Regions from separate parts of the Homo sapiens genome. Here region 2 is linked to region 1. Evidence: promoter capture Hi-C in 16 types of primary human blood cells and fetal thymus (Javierre and others, 2016). All regions are on one chromosome and are shown on one strand. The core of a region is centred on a gene start or on the middle of the fragment in contact, and the rest is flanking DNA. Distances in the headings are between cores, read along the strand shown. Region 1 holds the start of GFOD2 (Gfo/Idh/MocA-like oxidoreductase domain containing 2). Region 2 overlaps DUS2 (dihydrouridine synthase 2).

Region 1 (6,720 bases), core at 1,961-4,460:
AAAATTCAACTAAATAAAGGTGGGCCACAGGAACTTTTCCCCACAAAAATAAGGTATTAAGAATACATTTCAGAGCCAGGTGCAGTGGCTCACCCTGTAATCCCAGCACTTTGGGAGGCCAAGGCAGGCAGATCACCTGAGGTCAGGAGTTTGAGACCAGCCTAGCCAACATGGTGAAACCCCGTCTCTACTAAAAGTACAAAAATTAGCCAGGCGTGGTGGCGGGCGCCTGTAATCCCAGCTACTAGGGAGGCTGAGGCAGGAGAATCGCTTGAACCTGGGAGGCAGAGATTTCAGTGAGCCAAGATCACACCATTGCACTCCAACCTGGGTGACGAGTGAAACTCCATCTCAAAAACAACAACAACAACAACAAAAACATTCCAGGGCCAGGTGCATTGGCTCACGCCTGTAATCCCAGCACTTTGGGAGGCCAAGGCAAGAGGATCGCTTGACCCCAGGAATTCGAGGCCAATCTGGGCAACATAGACCCTGCCTCTACAAAAAATAGAAAAAATTAGCTGGACATGTTGGTGTCTGCCTGTGGTTCCAGCTTCTCAGGAGGCTGAGGCTGGAGGATTGCTTGAGCCTGGGTGGTTGAGGTTGCAGTGAGCCATGATTGCGCCACTGCACTCCAGCCTGGATGACAGAGCAAGGCCCTGCCTAAAAAAATAAAAAATAAAATTCCAAATATGCTCGCCTCAAATACTGCACAGTCAGAAAGTTTTCTGGGGGTACCTCTTTTGAGAGTTTGTTTTTGGGTTTTTTTTTTTTTTTTTTTTTTTTGAGACAAAGTCTTGCTCTCTCTCCCAGGCTGGAGTGCAGTAGCATGATTATGGCTCACTGCTACCTCAACCTCCCAGGCTCAAGTGATCCTCCCACCTCAGCCTCCCAAGTTGCTAAAACTACAGGTATGTGTCACCATGCCTGGCTAAGTTTTGTATATTTTATAGAGAAGTTTCACCATGTTGGCCAGGCTGGTCTCGAACTCCTGGTCTCAAGCAATCCTCCTGCCTTGGCCTCCCAAAGTACTAGGATTACAGGCGTGAGCCACGGCACCCAGCCTGACGGGTATTGAAATTAGCTTCCTGTCTCTTGCCTGAGGAGCAAGAGCTTGTTTCAAAATCCTCGCACCGTTTACTGTGTTAACATGGAAAGTTAACCTCTTTCTCCGAGACTGTTTCCCCATCCTTAAAACATGGTAAATCCTTCTGCCCCGTGGAGGTAGAGGATTATGGCAGATATACAGCAGTGTTTGGCACACAGGGATACACACAGTACACATGAGCATCCTTCCTCCATGAGGATGCCCAGTGGTGTGACTGGCCCACTCCTGCCTGCCCTGTCCCCGAGGCACCAGGGTTTTATGCAGAGGAGGGATACGGTAGATCATGCTGGTGTCCACCTGAAGGTGGTACTGGAGACAAATTGGAGCAAAAGAACCCAGGTAGGAGGCTGCAAAGAGGGCAGGTTTGAGAAAGATTTAGGAGAGAATTGGAGGTACAAGATGAATAACTGAATGTGAGGGAAATAGGAGAAGCAAGAGACAAGGCAAATGCAGACTTTGGTTGGGGGTGATGGGATGGATAATAGTACCACAAAATAACACAGAACAGAAGGGGGCAGGCAGTGGCTAAAAGTCACTGGAATTGGGAGGTTTGCCAGTAAATTAGGGGAGGTTTGCCAGTAAAAAAGTCACTGGAATTGGGAGGTGGTCCAGTAAATTAGGAAAACTGTCTTATGGATGTTCACAGTGATCGCCACCAGCTAATTAAAAGCTCAATCCTGTGTTAAAATGTGTTGCTTAACCCTGCACTTTCCAAACTTAAGTTACTACAGACTGTGTCACTCAGCAGAATCTTACAGGACTATTACTCTATAGAATGCTCTTAGGGAAGAGGTAGCATAAAGGGGAAAATATGGGTTTTAGATTAAGCATAAAGTCCTGGTTCTATATAAGTAAAGCCAGAGTAGGCTCATTTCCCCCTAGACTAGTGGTTCTCAACTGGGAATGATTTTGCTCCCAGGGAGACACTTGGCAATGTCTGGAGATATTTTTGGTAGTCACAACTGGGCTTGGGGTGCTACTGGCATCTACTGGGTAGAGCCAGGGATGCTGCCAAACATCCTACAATGCAGACAGCTCCCCCCACCCCTGCCCAACAAAGAATTATCAGGTCCAAAATGTCAATAGTGCCACTGTTGAGAAATCCTACTCAAGAAGAGTGGAACTCCGAACAATGACTAAGAAACAGATCAAACAGGCACATTTTGACTCTGCCTTCCTTCTGCCTGGCTCTAGAGGATCCAGGAGAGAAAGGATAAAATCCCATCAGAAGAGGGGGGGTTTAGGGGTTACAACTTCTCATCACTTTGGAAGCCTTCCATGCTCCTCACAGAGGTGGTAGGAGTCCTGTCTCCGCTCAAAGCAGGGATAGCTCTGCTGCTAGTTAGCATATCTCAGTAGGAACTGCCTCACGCTTAGGTCAGCTGACATATTCTGTCACCACAGGCTGCTCTGGAATGATGGCTGGGAGATCATCCTAATGCCAGCTGAGTGGGGATCTTGATACTCAGCAGGAGGGTCAGACAAGCAGGGACGGGGGCTCCCCATGCAGATACAAACCCCAATCACATTTCCTACACAGGCAGTTTTATTCTAAGGTCTAACGGCTTCCTTACTCTAGCGGATAGTTTGCTATTTGGTGGGGCATAGGCTTCAGTAAAGAGGCCAAGGGGACTGAGGTTACAGTCTTGAAGAGCACTGATATTTAAGGAACAATCAAAAAACATCCAGAGGAAGAGGAGCCCAGACAGGCACCTGAGAAAACGGAAAAACGAGTCACTGGGGGTCAGGGAGCCAGGAAGTCCGACGAGTTCGAGAGAACTGGCCTTCTGCAGATATGTCCTTGTCCAACACGAAACCGTCTTTCATTCCAGGACAACTGAGGCTACCCACAGCTACCAAAACCTGGTCCCTGACGCCGGTCAGCGGACCGGAGAGAAGCCAAGCTTAGGAAACTGCCGCCTCCGCCGCCGGAAATGAATAACCTGAGCCTCCTAGCCAGGCTGCTTAAGCTCCGCCCCCAAAAAGCGAGCATGCGCAGCTCCCGGCTACGGCCCCTCCCAGCGCAGGCCCATCCCCGTTATGGAGCATGCGCAGTCCTCCTGCCGTCCCGCCCCTCCCTTTCCAGAGCCCCCAGTTCCTTAGAAACCAGGCGGCGCGTTCCCGGTGGCGGCGCCCTGGACTCCCGGGCCCGCGCATCCCCGCCAGCCTTCCTTAAGGCGGATGGGTGGCCCCCGAGACCCCGTCGGACCCATGGTTTCCAGTGCAGCGCGGAGTGGGCGATGCCAGCGTGCCAGGTGAGAGGCGGCCACCGGTGGCGGGTGAGGGCGAAAGAGGGCATGGCGCGGCCGGGAGCGGGCGCCGACAGGGCCTTCTCCGCGGCCCGGCGCCGGAGGTTGGAGGCGTGGACCCGCAGAGCCGGGGTTGGAGGGGGCTTGTTCCAACTGCCTGCAGGCGCGTGGAGTGGAGGGTCGCCTTGGGATTCGCCCTTTCCACCGCAGAAATAGGACCCGCAGGCTTGGTGGTAGAATTATAGGATTTGGGATCCTGGAAGAACCTGAGACATAACCCATCCTTTTACCAGATGCAAAAACCTAGTCTCCCCCGCCCTGTGCCGAGCGGACCACCTGACTGTGTGAGGATGGACGCTTTGTGGATGAGGATGTGTGAGGTGTAGAAGCTCAGACAAAGGGCTCGTGGGGTAGCTGGTTCGTCCCCTTTCAGAATGAGATGGGACTTTTGGGGATAAATCTTTAAGAAACGGGTGTTCAGTTGACAGGTGGAAGAAGGGACACCCCAGAAGGTGCGAGTGGCTCTGCCAGCTCCCATGTGCCCTATGGCCACGTCTCAATGGCCCTGGCCTACCTTTGTATTTGTAGCTCTGGAAGGAAGCAGATGGACTTGAGACAAAAGGTGAAGTGAGGTCTTCCCATCAAGGCCCTATCACACTTAAAAGGTGAGGGAGGAAGAGTGGACAGGGACATGAGGGCTTGGGAATGGTTGTGTGAAGAGTTTACCCTCCAGACTACAGCACGATCTAAAGAACAAGGCAGGATAGAAGAGTTGAAAGCTGTATTGGATAGGCATCAGGGAAGCTTATTTAACTGTCTTATTTATGTTCATTGTTCCCATAATGTTATCCTGAGGGCAAGAAAGTGGATGTCCTTTTAAATGTCCAGAAAGAACTAGGGCAGGGCACCACCTTTGTGATCTGTGGGGCCCAAAAGCCTCTAAAGGAATAGCCCTTAGTGTGTGGCCCTTAAGTTGAAGGGAACAGCATTTAATTTAGAAAAGGAAGGCACTTAAATTTATTGTGATATGGAGCAATATAGAGAAGATGGTTGTTTTTGAGTCGGGGAAGCTAGATTCATTCTTGATAAGGAAACTTATTTCCTTCTGGAAAGCTACACTAGAGAACAAAAGAGTTTTAAGGCCATCCATTTTACAGGAAACGTGAAAAAATTAACTGCTTTGGGATTGGGAGTTTAGAGAACCTGCCTGGACCAAGAGAGGAAATTTTCAACAGACGGTTCTGTTGGTCGAATCCTTATTTCACAGATAAAGATTCTGTTGTGAGAGGTTATCTCTTACCACCTGGTTTTCCCACTTTGCCATGGAATAATCATTGGTCTGGGTCTAATTCTCTATCTATCTATCTATCTATCTATCGAGACGGAGTCTCACTCTGTCACCCAGACTGGAGTGCAGTGGTGCGATCTCGGCTCACTGCAATCTCCGCCTCCCAGGTTCAAGCGATTCTCTGGCCTCAACCTCCTGAGTAGCTGGGACTACAGGCATGTACCACCACGCCCAGCTAATTTTTGTATGTTTAGTAGAGAAGGGGTTTCACCATGTTGGCCAGGCTGGTCTTGAACTCCTGACCTCAGATGATCTGCCTGCCTTGGCCTCCCAAAGTGCTGGGATAACAGGTGTGAGCCACCACACCCAGCCCTCATTATTATTTTTATTTGCTAGGGCAATTGCTATCTGATTTCTATAGTAATACTAGAACACATTGGTAGTAGAACTAGCAATTTTTTAGAAAGCCTCCTCTGACCCAAAACTTAAAAATTAGAACTATGTGATTTTTAAAAGATGGTCCCTGATTCTAATCATCAAAGTCAGTTTGTCCCTAGCTTGATAAAAACTAATTTTCTATTTACATTTGACTTTGCAGCAGGTTTTTCCCCTTGCCCTTATAAGAAGATACATTGGAAGTATAATAATGTTAACAGGTGAAATCAGTTTAAAGAAGAAAGCTTTGGGCCGGGCGCAGTAGCTCATGCCTGTAATCCTAGCACTTTGAGAGACCAAGGTGGGTGGATCACCTGAGGTCAGGAGTTTGAGACCAGCCTCACCAACATAATGAAACCCCGTCTCTACTAAAAATACAAAATTATCGGGGCATGGTGGTGCACGCCTGTAATCCCAGCTACTTGGGAGGCTGAGGCAGGAGAATCGCTTGAACCTGGGAGGCAAAATTTGCAGTGAGTCGAGATCGCGCCATTGCACTCCAGCCTGGACAAGAGCTAAACTCTGTTTCAAAAAACAAAAAAAGAAGAAGAAAACTTTGTCTTGGCTTCATAATTCAGCATCATACCATAACTATGGGTATTGTGACTGTGCTTTTTACCAACTTTTCTTGCACCTGTGGGGTTATTTTGTATAAATACCTCAGGAGTTATAATGGGGCATTATCAAAAGCAAATGTAACCTCTGGGGAAAATCAGTACTGTTAACCAAATTCTGTCAGAAAGGCTTCATGAAAATCATTGTGTTCTGTGCAGAAACCTTCATTACTTTCACGTTGACCCAGAGGAAGGTAAGACAAGTAGGCCAAAATCAAGTCAAGGTAAAATGGAAGGGAGCAGTTGCCACCTGTGGAACTGGATGGACTGTGGGAGGGTGTTTTGAACGTGGGCACAAATACTTTGAATGAGCTTTTGGAGAGGGTACTGCTTAAATACGGCTGTGGTGTGACCTGTGGATTTGTGTGAGTTTTCTGAACTCCAATCAGAAAAACACTTGTTTTCAGAGAAAGGTAGACTTACAGAGGACTCTCAAAAGTCCTGGTTGCTATGACAGTGAAACCTTTGACAAATAATTACTTAACTTCTATGCCATTTTCTGGAGCAGCTGAGGGCAGTTATCATATCTGGCCTGTAATAAAGTAATCAACAGTGTTTGACAGGCCAACCATGAGGAAACCCTACCAGATAAACCAGCAATGCTAATAGAAGCTACTTTCACTGAACTGATTTTCTAGTTTTCCCATAAGAGGAGAAATGGAATGGGGATGCAATGTCATCTGATGTTAGAAGTTGAAATGCAGAGGTCGGTGTTCAGAAAACACAGGATCAGAGAGACCACTAACTTAGAAATAGGAAAAGTGCCTTTCTGATGCCTGAAAAGTCACTCATGCATATTTATTTTTAAATGTTTATTCATTTTTGAGACAGGGTCTTGCTCTGTCACCAAGCCTGGAGTACAGTGGCGTGATCACAGCTCACTGCAGCCTCTGACTCCTGGGCTCAAGTGATCCTCCCACCTCAGCCTCCTGAGTAGCTGGGACCACAGGTGCATGCCACCATAGACAGCTAATAAAACAAGTTTTTTTTTTTTTTGTAGAGATGGGGGTCTCTATAACAGGGGGT
Region 2 (6,720 bases), core at 1,997-4,496, 330 kb before region 1:
GTATTAGGTTGGTGCAAAAGTAATTGCGGTTTTTGCCATTGAAAGTAATGGCAAAAACCGCAATTACTTTTGCACCAACCTAAATAGTAATACATAGTTAATAGTCCGTGATCAGCAGCAATAACTGCCTGAGTTCCCACTCACTCTTTGTAATTATAACGATAGCTAACACTTACTAAGATGTCAGTATGTGCCACATGCTGCAAAGACATTTACAGGCATTATTTCATTTACCCTTCCCTATGCCAGAGGTTGGTAGCACTATTTTATAGGTGAGAAAACTAGGTTCTCATTGAGGTTAAGCAACTTATCTCAGGTCACACAGTTAACAAGTAGCAAAACCAGAATTGCAAACCAGGTCTGTCTTAACTTCAAAACCTATCACATTAACTATAGCACTCTCCTGCCTTTGTTTTTGTTCTTGAGACAGGGTCTCACTGTGTTCCCCAGGCTGGAGTCCAGTGGCGCAATGGAGGCTCACTGCAGCCTCGACCTCCTGGGCCCAAGTGATCCTTCCACGTCAGTCTTCCAAGTAGTTGGGACCACTGGCATGCACCACCATTTTTGTAGAGATGAGCTCTGCCTATGTTCCCCAGGCTTCCTATCTATGTTAATTCAGGAAGCAATATGTCTTACCTATACTTTGATACTTAAAGCTTCAGGACTCATAGTCATGGGAGTCCCTGGGAAGGAGTTTCACGAATAAATACAAAAAAACAGCTCCCCCCAATATGCATAGAGGGTCTCTGAGATCTAGGCACTGTAGGTACACATGAGTCCCAGGCCAGCCCTTGGATGCCACAAAGAGAAGGAAACTAGACACTCTTTTTTTTTTAAGACAGAGTCTCGCTTGGTCACCAGGCTGGAGTGCAATGGCGCAATCTCGGCTCACTGCAACCTCTGCCTCCCGGGTTCAAGCGATTCTTCTGCCTCAGCCTCCTGAGTAGCTGGGACTACAGGCACGCGCCACCACACCCAGCTAATTTTTGTATTTTTAGTAGAGACAGGGTTTCACCATGTTGGCCAAGATGGTCTCGATCTCTTGACCTCATGATCCACCTGCCTCAGCCTCCCAAAATGCTGGGATTACAGGCATGAGCCACCGCACCTGGCTGGAAACCAGGCACTCTTAACCTGGAAACAGAAGGTAATGGGCTAGAAGGCAGAAGGGTGAGTCACCTACAAAGTCACCAGGACATTAAACCCTCACAGCTCAAAGGAGAGGCAAAGGCAGTGCTAAAGACAGAGGATGAACTTACACAAGCCTGGCCACAGCAAGGGCTCGCTCTGCGTCTGAAGTCCCCTGGGAACACAAGAGGCTGCATCAACCACTGCCCTGACACAGATACACATGCACTGACAAACACACCCATGCAGCACACACATACACACACACACCCCACACACCAACAACAGAGTCAGGCTGGCTTTCTCTTAAACAGCCAGCCCACTAGACTAGCTCACTGCCAGCAGAAAAAGGTGGACTTGGAAGGTCTAGAAAATGTTATCTATACTATGATTACACTCAAACATATAAAAAACTTGAAAACATTTTATAGTGACCATTCAAACACTCACCATTTAGATTCTACAATTAACATTTTGCTAGATTTGCTTTATCACATGGTTACCCATTGTTAACTTATAGTGACCATTCAAACACTCACCATTTAGATTCTACAATTAACATTTTGCTAGATTTGCTTTATCACATGGTTACCCATTGTTAACAATTTTTTAGAAACCTAAACATCATTAAGGATGTTTCTGAAAAAGCACCAAGAAATGCCCAAAGCGAGAGAAGGGCACTATAGAGTCATCACAACTCAAATACAAATCTTAACTACTCTTGAAAAATCCTAATATTTTTCTATGAGAAATATATACACACTACATAAAAACAAAGACTATGATCTGAGTAATCAATGCTAGGGATAAAAAAATAGAGAAATCATGCCAAACAGACAATTCCTACAAGTAAGTAAATTAAATTTGAGACTAGAGACATATAAGACTGTGATAGCTTGATTTCCATAAACTGTCTCCAATAGTATAATTACTCATGACTGGCTCTTTGGAAAACATTAAAGCAGAATCTTCAGGAAGCCATCGTTGTACAATGTACCCCAGGTATTCAACACTGGCCTGGCACAGGGCATGAGTTGGGAAATCCCAGGGGATGGTGAGCCTCAGGAGGGCATGCAGCAATGGAGTCTCTCACCATCTGGAAGACCACCCTGTTCTGCTCTCTTTCACAGGTGCGGAAGACAACTCGATCATCAGGGGCGACAAAGTCCACTGTGCTGAGCACCTCTGCAAGAAAACCCAAACACATAGGGTCACTCAATGAAGATGCAAGTTCAACGCTAGCCTAAGCCCTGGAAGAAAACACAGCCAGAGTATAAGCTTCAAGGGGAAAGAGATCCTAAATGTATACCATTCTTACCAAAAATAACTATGCACATGGGAGGCTTCTGTGATGATGAGGATGGTCTATTTCCTGACCTGGGTGATGGTTGTTCATTTTGCAATTACTTGTGAAACTGCATGTTTGTGTTTAATGCACTTTTTCTGAATGGTGGTTAACATTTTGCAACGTTTAAAATGTTAAAACCGGGCCGGGTATGGTGGCTTACGCCTGTAATCCCAGCACCTTGGGAGGCCGAGGCGGGCGGATCATGAGGTCAAGAGTTCAAGACCAGCCTGGCCAACATGGTGAAACACCGTCTCTGATAAGAATACAAAAATTAGCCAGGCGTGGTGGGGTATGCCTGTAACCCTAGCTACTCGAGAGGCTGAGGCAGGAGAATCGCTTGAATCTGGGAGGCGGAGGTTGCAGCGAGCCGAGATCGCGCCATTGCACTCCAGCCTGGGCGACAGAGCAAGACTCCGTCTCGAAAAAAAAAAAAATGTTGAAACAAAATGTACATACATAGCCGGGCGCAGTGGCTCACGCTTGTAATCCTAGGACTTTGGAAGGCCAAGGCAGGTGGATCATGTGAGGTTAGGAGTTTGAAACCAGCCTACACAACATGGCAAAACCGCATCTCTACTAAAAATACAAAAATTAGCTGGGCGTGGTGGAGGGTGCCTGTAATACCAGCTACTCAAGAGGCTGAGGCAGCACAATCTCTTGAACCTGGGAGGCAGAGATTGCAGTGAGCTGAGATCGCGCCACTGCACTCCAGCCTGGGCAACAGAGGGAGGCTCTGTCTCAAAAAAAAAAAAAAAGTCCATACATGGAAGTTTGTCTATGTTTCAGATTTGGCCCAAATTTTCCCAGAAAACATCACTCTGAAGTTCAGCAAATTTACTATTTACTTACAGTGAGACAGGTGCTATGAGTGGAAGGTTACTATATAACAATCAATCTCCTATACTATTCATAGTTGCATATTTGCAAATGTGCCTATTTGCTAACATTTATTTGTGACCCCAAAATCAATACTTGTGATGTTTTCATGGTCATCCAAGGACAGGAACAGAGTGGTGAAAGTTTTGAGTTGCCTGATGTGCATGTTCCCAGCTGAGGTCAAACAAGGTGATGCTCTGTCTTCTCCCTTCAGCTCTCATACTGTCAACAAGTGTCCCTTTTGTGGTATATTTCATGCCACATTTCTGCATGTCTATGCTTTTTGTTGGTGATCTCACTGTTTAAAATGGTCCCAAGTGGCTGGGTGCGGTGGCTCACACCTGTAATCCCAGCACTTTGGGAGGCCGAGGCGGGTGGGTTACCTGAGGTTAGGGAGTTCGAGACCACCCTGGGCAACATGGTGAAACTCAAGTCTCTACTAAAATACAAAAAAAAAAATTAGCTGGGTGTGGTGGCACACACCTGTAGTCCCCACTACTTGGAAGGCTGAGGCACAAGAATCTCTTGAGCCGGGAAGGCGGAGGTTGCAGTGAGCCAAGATCACGCCACTGCACTCTAGCTTGGGCTACAGAGTAAGATTCCATCTCAAAAAATATAAAATAAATAAAATAAAATGGTCCCAACCATACTGCTGAAATGCTATCTAATGTTCCTAAGCACAAGAAAACGGTCATGGGACTTACAGAGAAAATACACATCTTGAATAAGCTTTGTTTCGGCATGAAATTATAGCACTATTACCCATGTTAGTGGGTTCAATGTTAAGTGAATCAATGGTATATATTAAATAATATGCCTTTAAACAGAAACACATGGCCAGTGTGATGGCTAAGTCCTGTAATCCCAGTATTTTGGGAGGCTGAGGCAGGGGGATCACTTGAGGCCAGGAGTTTGAGACCAGCTGGGGAACATAGCAAGACCCCCATCTCTACAAAAAATTTAAAAATTGGCTGGGCATGGAGGTGTGCACCTGAAATCCCAGCTACTTGGAAGGCTGAGGCAGGATGATCATTTGAGCCCAGGAGTTTGAGGCTGCAGCGAGCTATGGTCACACCAGTACACTCCAGCCTGAGCAACAGAGTGAGACCTGGTCACAAAAAAGAAACCAAACAAAAACAAAGAAACACACATAAAACAAAGTTATGGACTGACAAGTTGATGAAAATATGACCAGAGGCTTGCACAAACCTAACCCTTTGTTTACCCCAGGGTCAATGGTTCAGTATCCGCTCATTTGATGTTTAAAGCAACTTTATAGAAACAACAACGGTGCATAATGAGAAGCAACTGTATTTTATCTGTCAGCTTCCTAAAGAAGCTCCACAATAGGTGCTACCATTACTAGCTTTCAAAGATCACTATACATGAAAAAGACTGAACGTGGCAGATGGGAGAATATGCCTACCTCAAAGGCTGTCTTGAGAAATAAATGAGATCTTTGATGCACTTAAAGTATTTCCATACATGGATGGTTTTATTATCATCCAGCACTAAACAGATGAGAAGGTTTTTAGGGTGGGATAAAGGCAATGACATGTTGAGAGAGGTAATCAAAGTGATCACTGACAGAGACAGCTCATGACTGGCAGTAAGAAGTATGAGAGAAGAACCACAAAATATTTGTGTGTTTATAATGCAACTCTGTTTATAACAGCAAAATACTGGGAACCCCTGTTAAGGCTCTGGTAAAATCAATTCTGACATAGTTGCCCCTAGGTACTGACATGGGCAAATGACCTAGTAGATAAGTAAATGGCAAAACAACACGTGTTGTATGATCAAATGGGGTGGGGAGATAGATAAATATAGATATAGATATAGATACAGATATAGATATAGATACATTTTTTTTCCTTATCTTCAACCTAGAAGAGGGATATATATAAACACGTCATATTTTGTACACACACATTATTTACTATATGTATAGAAAAACATACATTATTCCTCTCTCTGATTACCTCTTTAGGTGTAGGATTATGGAGGATTTTCATTTTCTAGGTTACACAGATCTATAATATTGAATTTTTTATCACACAGAAAAAAATATACACATTTAAAATAGTTCGGCCAGGCATGGTGGCTCACACCTGTAATTCCAGCACTTTGGGAGGCCAAGGCAGGCGGATCACGAGGTCAAGAGTTCAAGACCAGACTGGCCGCCATGGTGAAACCCCTTCTCTACTAAAAATACAAAAATTAGCCGGGTGTGGTGGCGGGCACCTGTAGTCCCAGCTACTCGGGAGGCTGAGGCAGGAGAACTGCTTGAACCTGGGAGGCAGAGGTTGCAGTGAACCAAGACCGCGCCGTTGCACTCAAGCCTAGGCAACAGAGGGAGATTCCGTCTCAAAAAAAAAAAGATTTCACAAGCATATACGTATGTATCAGAAAACTCAAGGAATATACCACAACTCTAATCAAAGCAGAATCAGCCTCATCAATAAAGTATCAGCAAAACTACAATTCATCACAATCACATTTGCACAGAGCATAGGGCGTCCACAGTACTTACATGTACCTTATCTTATTTGGTCCTCACTCCAACCCTATGATTGAAGTAAAGCAAAGACTATGATTTCATTTTACAGATAAAGGAACTAAGGCAGACAGAGGTCATATGGCCTGCCCAAGGTCACACATCTAGCAAGTGGCCAAGCCAGGGCCAATGCTAAAGCCATCCTGACTCCAAGGCTCCTAGAGTCCCTCCTATGCTATGATGCATGGTGATTTCTATGCCAGCAAGCCTGTGAGTGAAAGGCACTCTCAGCCTGTTTCACATCAGGCTTTTTGTCATGGCCTCTGGAGATCAGTGACTGCTCTCAAGGGAGCATGTGATCTATAGAATTACTCAATGAAGCCAGGCAAGACACTGTCACCCCAGGCAAGGGCAGTGGTAGTGCTGCTTGAGCCCAGCAGGGCATATGCATAATTCTGGAGCCAGATCTGTACTCACCATTAACAACTCTCTTGCACTGAATCATCTTGAGGTCGATCAGCTCCTGCAGAGGAATCAGAGGACGCTTGTCATTCCTGAACATGTAGGCTCTGGGCATGAAGGATTTTCATCACACACCTAATGAGGATCGCTTGGCCAGTCGCCCTACTACCAAGAACAAACCACGGCTTTTGGGACATGTAGTGCTATTCTCCCCACCCAAGCATGGCAAGCAGGAGCCAGAGTGAGCTACTCTCAATTAGCTGTCCTTCCCAGGAAACTTGGAGATGGTTGGGGCCTAGAATGAATGAACCACTTAGCCAGAAAGACAATAATCATTCAGGATGTATTCACTTGGAAAATTTCCTCACCTACTGGTCTCAGCAGAAGCCCACCCCATCAAAGAATATCC

What was found. Contacts are between HindIII fragments. The CHiCAGO score rates a contact against its expected background, and 5 or more counts as called.
Region 2: a contact is called between a fragment that was not itself captured here and the fragment with the promoter of GFOD2 in region 1, in 1 of 17 cell types (erythroblasts). The highest score is 5.1, in erythroblasts.

The regions. Positions count from the first base shown.
Region 1 is chr16:67,715,806-67,722,525 of GRCh38, reverse strand. GFOD2 (Gfo/Idh/MocA-like oxidoreductase domain containing 2) reads left to right here and starts at 3,210. Exons shown (of 3, transcript NM_030819.4): 1 at 3,210-3,363. RefSeq lists silencers at 3,293-3,342, 3,403-3,452 and an enhancer at 3,813-3,892. The HindIII fragment of the contact is 1,149 bases long and covers 3,015-4,163 here.
Region 2 is chr16:68,049,157-68,055,876 of GRCh38, reverse strand. It overlaps DUS2 (dihydrouridine synthase 2), which reads right to left. Exons shown (of 17, transcript NM_017803.5): 4 at 6,327-6,372; 5 at 2,222-2,313; 6 at 1,260-1,303. Among named protein-coding and RNA genes, the nearest start is that of DUS2, 29 kb to the right of the region's middle. The HindIII fragment of the contact is 1,675 bases long and covers 2,409-4,083 here.